Regions from separate parts of the Homo sapiens genome. Here region 2 is linked to region 1. Evidence: promoter capture Hi-C in 16 types of primary human blood cells and fetal thymus (Javierre and others, 2016). All regions are on one chromosome and are shown on one strand. Each heading gives the region's core, a stretch centred on a gene start or on the middle of the fragment in contact. The rest is flanking DNA. Distances are from core to core; before and after follow the strand shown.

Region 1 (2,700 bases), core at 41-2,540:
TGACCTCAAGTGATGGGCCAGAAGATTTCTAAGGAGTCTTGCATTCTAAACTTCTATTATTGTGAATCCAATGTTGTAGCAGAGACAGAGCTGGATTTGGAATCAGGAGCCTGGGATTTGAGCACAGCTCGGCCACATACCAGCTGTGTGAACATGGGCAAGTCATTTAATCTCTCTAAGCCTCACGGAGATTTACTTGACAGACTTGGGAAGGATTAAGGGGGTTACTGTACGTCAAAGTGCCTTATAAACTGTAAAGAACTACCCTAATGTCAGGTATTCTTTTATAATGTCCAGTCTTCCTTTTTTTTGAGCCAATCAGAAAAAGTAACCTAAAGTGAGTCAGATCTCAGGAATTTAAGTTGTAAAACCAGGAAATACAGTATAGTTAATTGTGCATCATAATCACCTTATGGAATTTATAGAATCGTTTTATTTTATCAATGCTTGCACTTTGATAATGAATAATACAAGGTAAAATTACAAATAGGTACTCACTTGTACAGGCCGATCCTCCATAAGAAGATGCTCACTGTTCTTGGAATCCCAAATTTTGGGGGGCAAAATAGTGAACACAGTATATGATAACGGCAACAAGTACTTATAAGCTAGTTTTCTCTTTCATTGAACAATTTCGTGTTGAGCCATCAGGTCTACCGGGGAGGATAGCAAACCTGAGGCCAACAAGAAAGAAGTTTTCCTGTTTTTCAAGTGAGGAAGGGCAGCCCTAGAATAACCTAAGCTGCCATGGGCAGGGCGATGATGTTTTCTCCTGAGACAGCCAATGAGCCATGTGTCAAAGGCCAGCCCTTCCTATTCTTTGGACTAACAGCCCTAGAACTGCTTTGAGGTCTTTTGAATGGAACTCGGGGAACCTAGTTCGTTGGTGCACACCGGCGACAATTTTTCGATTATTCAGCAGAACTGATAAAGTATTTCCTTGAGAGGTTCAGCGCGCGCACGCGCCCCCTCGGTTTGTGTTGAGTAACGCGCGCACTATGTCATTCAGTGCCCGCACATCGTTGTTGCTCAAGACTCAAGACGTTGCAAGAAAATGGCTAACGAAGCGACGAGAGAACGGCGGCGCGGCGGACGTTGCTGCGGTAGGACGTGCCCGACCTCCCAGTCCACACAAGGGAGCGCACCGCCCAAGTGGCCGCGGCCCGCTCGACCGAGCGCGCCGCTGCCGGTCCCTGCGCCAACGCGCACGCGCGGCCGTCATCCGGGTGCTGGCGGCTGCTGCTGCAGGTTGCGCTAGGGTGGCGGACCGGGGGAGGGGCCAGCGGCTCATTGTGCGCAGCGCTGCGCGGCGCCGGCGGCCGCCGAGGCCTGGGTGGAAGTTGGCGCTGCTGCCGCCGCCCTGCAGCCCACTCGCTGCCTCGGCAGCGCGCTGCTCTTCTAAGATGGCTGCCGCTACCGGTGCGGTGGCAGCCTCGGCCGCCTCGGGTCAGGCGGAAGGTAAAAAGATCACCGATCTGCGGGTCATCGATCTGAAGTCCGAGCTGAAGCGGCGGAACTTAGACATCACCGGAGTCAAGACCGTGCTCATCTCCCGACTCAAGCAGGTGAGGCCCGGCGAGGACCGGAAAGGACCGGGAAGGGGAACTTAGGCCGCGCCTCGGCGCCCCGCTTCCGCCGCAGCCTCCGGCTGCCCGCAGCCGCTGGGACCTGCGGAACGGCATGGTAGGGAGGCCAGGGGCGGCTCCCGCGAGCGTGGAGGACGGGGACCCTTCCGCGGTGCCCCCGCCCCGCGCCCCGGGCCGGGCCGGGCCTGCGAGGGACCGGCCACCGCAGCCCAGCGTGCCTCCGCCTCCCCGGGACGTCCCCGCCAGGCTGCGAGGGTTGCGGCCGGCCGGCGCGGCCTCCCAAGGGCGATCGCGGAGACCTGGGAGGCGCTGGCTCCCCAGCCTTTAGCCATGGTGAGCGTGTGCATTTCTTGGCCTCAGAGGGAATGGTTACTTTGGTGACTTCTGCGAAGTTACCGTTTAATTGTGCCCAACCGTTTCTTCCCCATCTTGAGGGGGAATTGGTAGTGGGAGTTGATGGGTGGGTGACAGAGTTTTTGTTTTCCACTAGGCTTTTAGTTTTTGCATCAGCGCAATAATTACTTTTTCTTTCCTGATTAGCTTTCTGGTTTGAGTGAGCGTTGGAATTGTAGCAGAGGAGCAGTAAGTTTGCATTACAGAAACTAGGAAAACTCTTTTTAGTTATTTACTTTAGTAGCTAGCAACTTTTCTGCAATAGAACATATTTGGATTTTTGGCCAGTATGATGTGATATTTAATTATCTTGACACGGTAGAATTTAAAACTCCTTGCGATTTTGATACCTAATGATTTTTTTCCCCTGAAAGTTTCTCTCACTCTTTCGTGTAGTTTAATTGCTCATTTTTGAAGTCGGTTGATGAAATGACTGGCAATTCTAATGTCTTGAGGCTTGAGGTTTGCTAAATTTTTTTTCATTTCGTTTTTATAAAATAAGTTTAGATAGATTGTGTAGCATATTAACTTCTCTTTCTAATGTAGGCTATTGAAGAGGAAGGAGGCGATCCAGATAATATTGAATTAACTGTTTCAACTGATACTCCAAACAAGAAACCAACTAAAGGCAAAGGTTGTTACGAGTTATGAACATGTTTTAAAATATATTTTGGTTATATAACTTGCCTCTGCTCTTGTGCCTCTTGCCCTGTTTATATAG
Region 2 (2,769 bases), core at 12-2,511, 490 kb before region 1:
CATCAGAGAAACACAAATCAAAACTACAGTGAGACATCATCTCACCCGAGTTAAAACGGCTTTTATCCTAAAAGGCAATAACAAACGCTGGCAAAGATGTGCAGAAGAGGGAATCCTCGTACACTGTTGGTAGAAATGTAAATTAGCACAGCCACTATGGAGAACAGTTTGGAAGTTCTTCAAAAATCTAAAAATAGAGCTATCATATGACCCAGCAGTTTCACTGCCAGATACATACCCAAAAGAAAGGAAATCAGTATATCGAAGAGATATCTGCACTCTTATGTTTATCACAGCACTATTCACAATAACAAAAATTTGGAAGCAACCTAAGTGTATTCAGCAGATGAATGGATAAAGAAAATATGGTACCTATACACAATGGAATACTATTTAGCCATAAAAAAGAATGAGATCCTGTCATTTACAACAACATGGATGGAACTGGAGGTCATTATGTTAAGTAAAATAAAACAGGCACAGAAAGACAAACTTTGCATGTTCTCACTCATTTGTGGGAGCTAAAAATTAAAACAATTGAACTCATGGAGATAGACGGTAGAATGGCAGTTACCAGATGCTAGGAAGGAGAGTGGGGCCTAGCGGGGCAGTGTGGATGGTTAATGAGTATTAAAAAAACAGAATAAATAAGATCTAGTATTTCATAGCACAACAGGGTAACTTTTGCTATCAATAGGTCAATAATCATTTAATTGCACATTTAAAAATAGCTAAAAGAGGCGAGGCATGGTGGCTCAAGCCTGTAATCCCAGCACTTTGGGAGGCTGAGACAAGCAAATCACTTGAGGTCAGGAGTTTAAGACCAGCCTGGCCAACATGGAGAAACCCCGTCTCTACTAAAAATACAAAAATTAGCTGGGCTTGGTGGCATGCACCTGTGATCCCAGCTGCTCAGGAGGCTGAAGCAGGAGAATCACTTGAACCCAGGAGGCGGAGGCTGCAGTGAGCCGAGATCAGGCCACTGCACTCCAGCCTGGGTGACAGAGTGAGACTCGGTGCTCCCAAAAATAAAAAATAAAATAAAATAAAACCAAGAAGTAGAGCACTATAGGGAGGTCACTCCCAGGCAAATGGGAGAAAGAAACAGAAACAGATTGTCTGATATGTTTGATCTTAGCGAAGGGAATTACAGTTCTGTCAGAAAGCTTATAGATGAACTAGTGATATGTGCATAAAAAACTAATAGCCCAAGAAAAGGCAATGCTTAATGCTAAGAGTTAAAAGAAATGTGTTCAATCATACTTGACTCAGCTGTGAACAATAGTTATAATGTAAATATGTTACTGAGTGTTGGTTTAATGAAAGATTGCTATGTCACTCTATTGAGAAGCTTAGGGGGGAAGTGTATGTGGCAGAGGTATGTCGAGGCGTGTTGGAGAACTAAATCCTCACCTTCCTTAGTAGGAAGTGACTAGATAATGTCTAACAGTAAAAGATGAAGAAACATCAGTATAAGCAAGTTTGATTTTATAAACTGAGTACATGTATTTCTTTGTTTGTTTGTTTGGGTGTTTTTGAGACAGAGTTTCGCTCTTGTTGCCCACGCTGGAGTACAGTGGCGCAATCTCGGTTCACCGCAACCTCTGCCTCCTGGGTTCAAGCGATTCTCCTGCCTCAGCCTCCCAGTAGCTGGGATTACAGGCATGCGCCACCACGCCTGGCTAATTTTGTATTTTTAGTAGAGAAGTAGAGACGGGGTTTCTTCATGTTGGTCAGGCTGGTCTTGAACTCCCAACCTCAGGTGATCGCCCACCTCGGTCTCCCAAAGTGCTAGGATTACAGGCAAGAGCCATCACACCTGGTCAGTACGTGTATTTCTTAGAGCCAATTTTTTTTTTTAATCCAGAGTTAGGAGAAATAAATTATAGAATATTTTAAAAGTACTTGTACCTATTATTTTGAAATTCTTCTGGTTATTTCTTTAAGAGTCTTACTGCCTTTATTCCCAGGACATAATTTCTGTATTTCTGTTTTGGAGACAATTCAAAAAGTGTGGTTAGCAAACCACAATTCTTCCACTTTAGAATGGCATTATGAAGCCTTTTTTAGAGGACTAAAGACTAATTTAAAAACTAATTTTGTTCAAAAGAACATAAACTCATTGACTGCATAGCAAATTGTTCCAAATATATTTTAATAACTTTCTGACCAAACAAAATCAGAAGATGACTTTTAAGTTCAGTTTGAGCCCATTAAAAATAGAATAGCCAGCTGGGTGCAGTGGCTTATGCCTGTAAACCCAATAGGAGGCCAAGACAGGAGGATCGCCTGAGGCCAGGAGTTCAAGACAAGCCTGGGCAGCATAGTGAGACCCCCATCTCTACAAAATAAAATAATTATCCAGTCATGGTGATGCAGGCCTGTAGTCCCACTTACTCAGGAGGCTGAGGCAGGAGGCTCACTTAAGCCTGGCAGTTTGAAGCTGCAGTGAGCTATGATCATGCCACTGTACTCCAGTATAAGCAACAGAGTGAGATCCTGTCTCAAAAACAAACAAATAAACAAATAAAAGAATAGCCAAGGCAAAGCCTATTTTACTAAAACAAAAATATTTTCCAGATAGAGTATTCATTTAAAGTACGATTTTTCTGTGTGTAACTGTAATAATACTTTATAAAGCAATAAAAAAGAAAAAAACTATTTTAGCAATTTTTAAATAAGGCTTATGAATAACAGAAGGTCAGGGGCCTTTTTCCATAACTCAGATAATTAAAATAATTATCTGCTGAACACATATTACATGAATGG

Evidence for each region. The method cuts DNA at HindIII sites, captures the fragments that hold promoters and counts their contacts. A CHiCAGO score of 5 or more calls a contact.
Region 2: a fragment that was not itself captured here is called in contact with the fragment with the promoter of SLTM in region 1 in 2 of 17 cell types (erythroblasts and naive B cells); the score reaches 5.2 in erythroblasts.

The regions. Positions count from the first base shown.
Region 1 is chr15:58,932,269-58,934,968 of GRCh38, reverse strand. It overlaps SLTM (SAFB like transcription modulator), which reads left to right and starts at 1,290. Exons shown (of 21, transcript NM_024755.4): 1 at 1,290-1,565; 2 at 2,526-2,613. The coding sequence starts at 1,404. RefSeq lists enhancers at 844-933, 954-1,093, 1,384-1,623 and silencers at 1,124-1,303, 1,674-1,933. The HindIII fragment of the contact is 26,250 bases long and covers 1-2,700 here.
Region 2 is chr15:59,425,381-59,428,149 of GRCh38, reverse strand. It overlaps a transcript of FAM81A not described here. Among named protein-coding and RNA genes, the nearest start is that of FAM81A, 11 kb to the left of the region's middle. The HindIII fragment of the contact is 185 bases long and covers 1,169-1,353 here.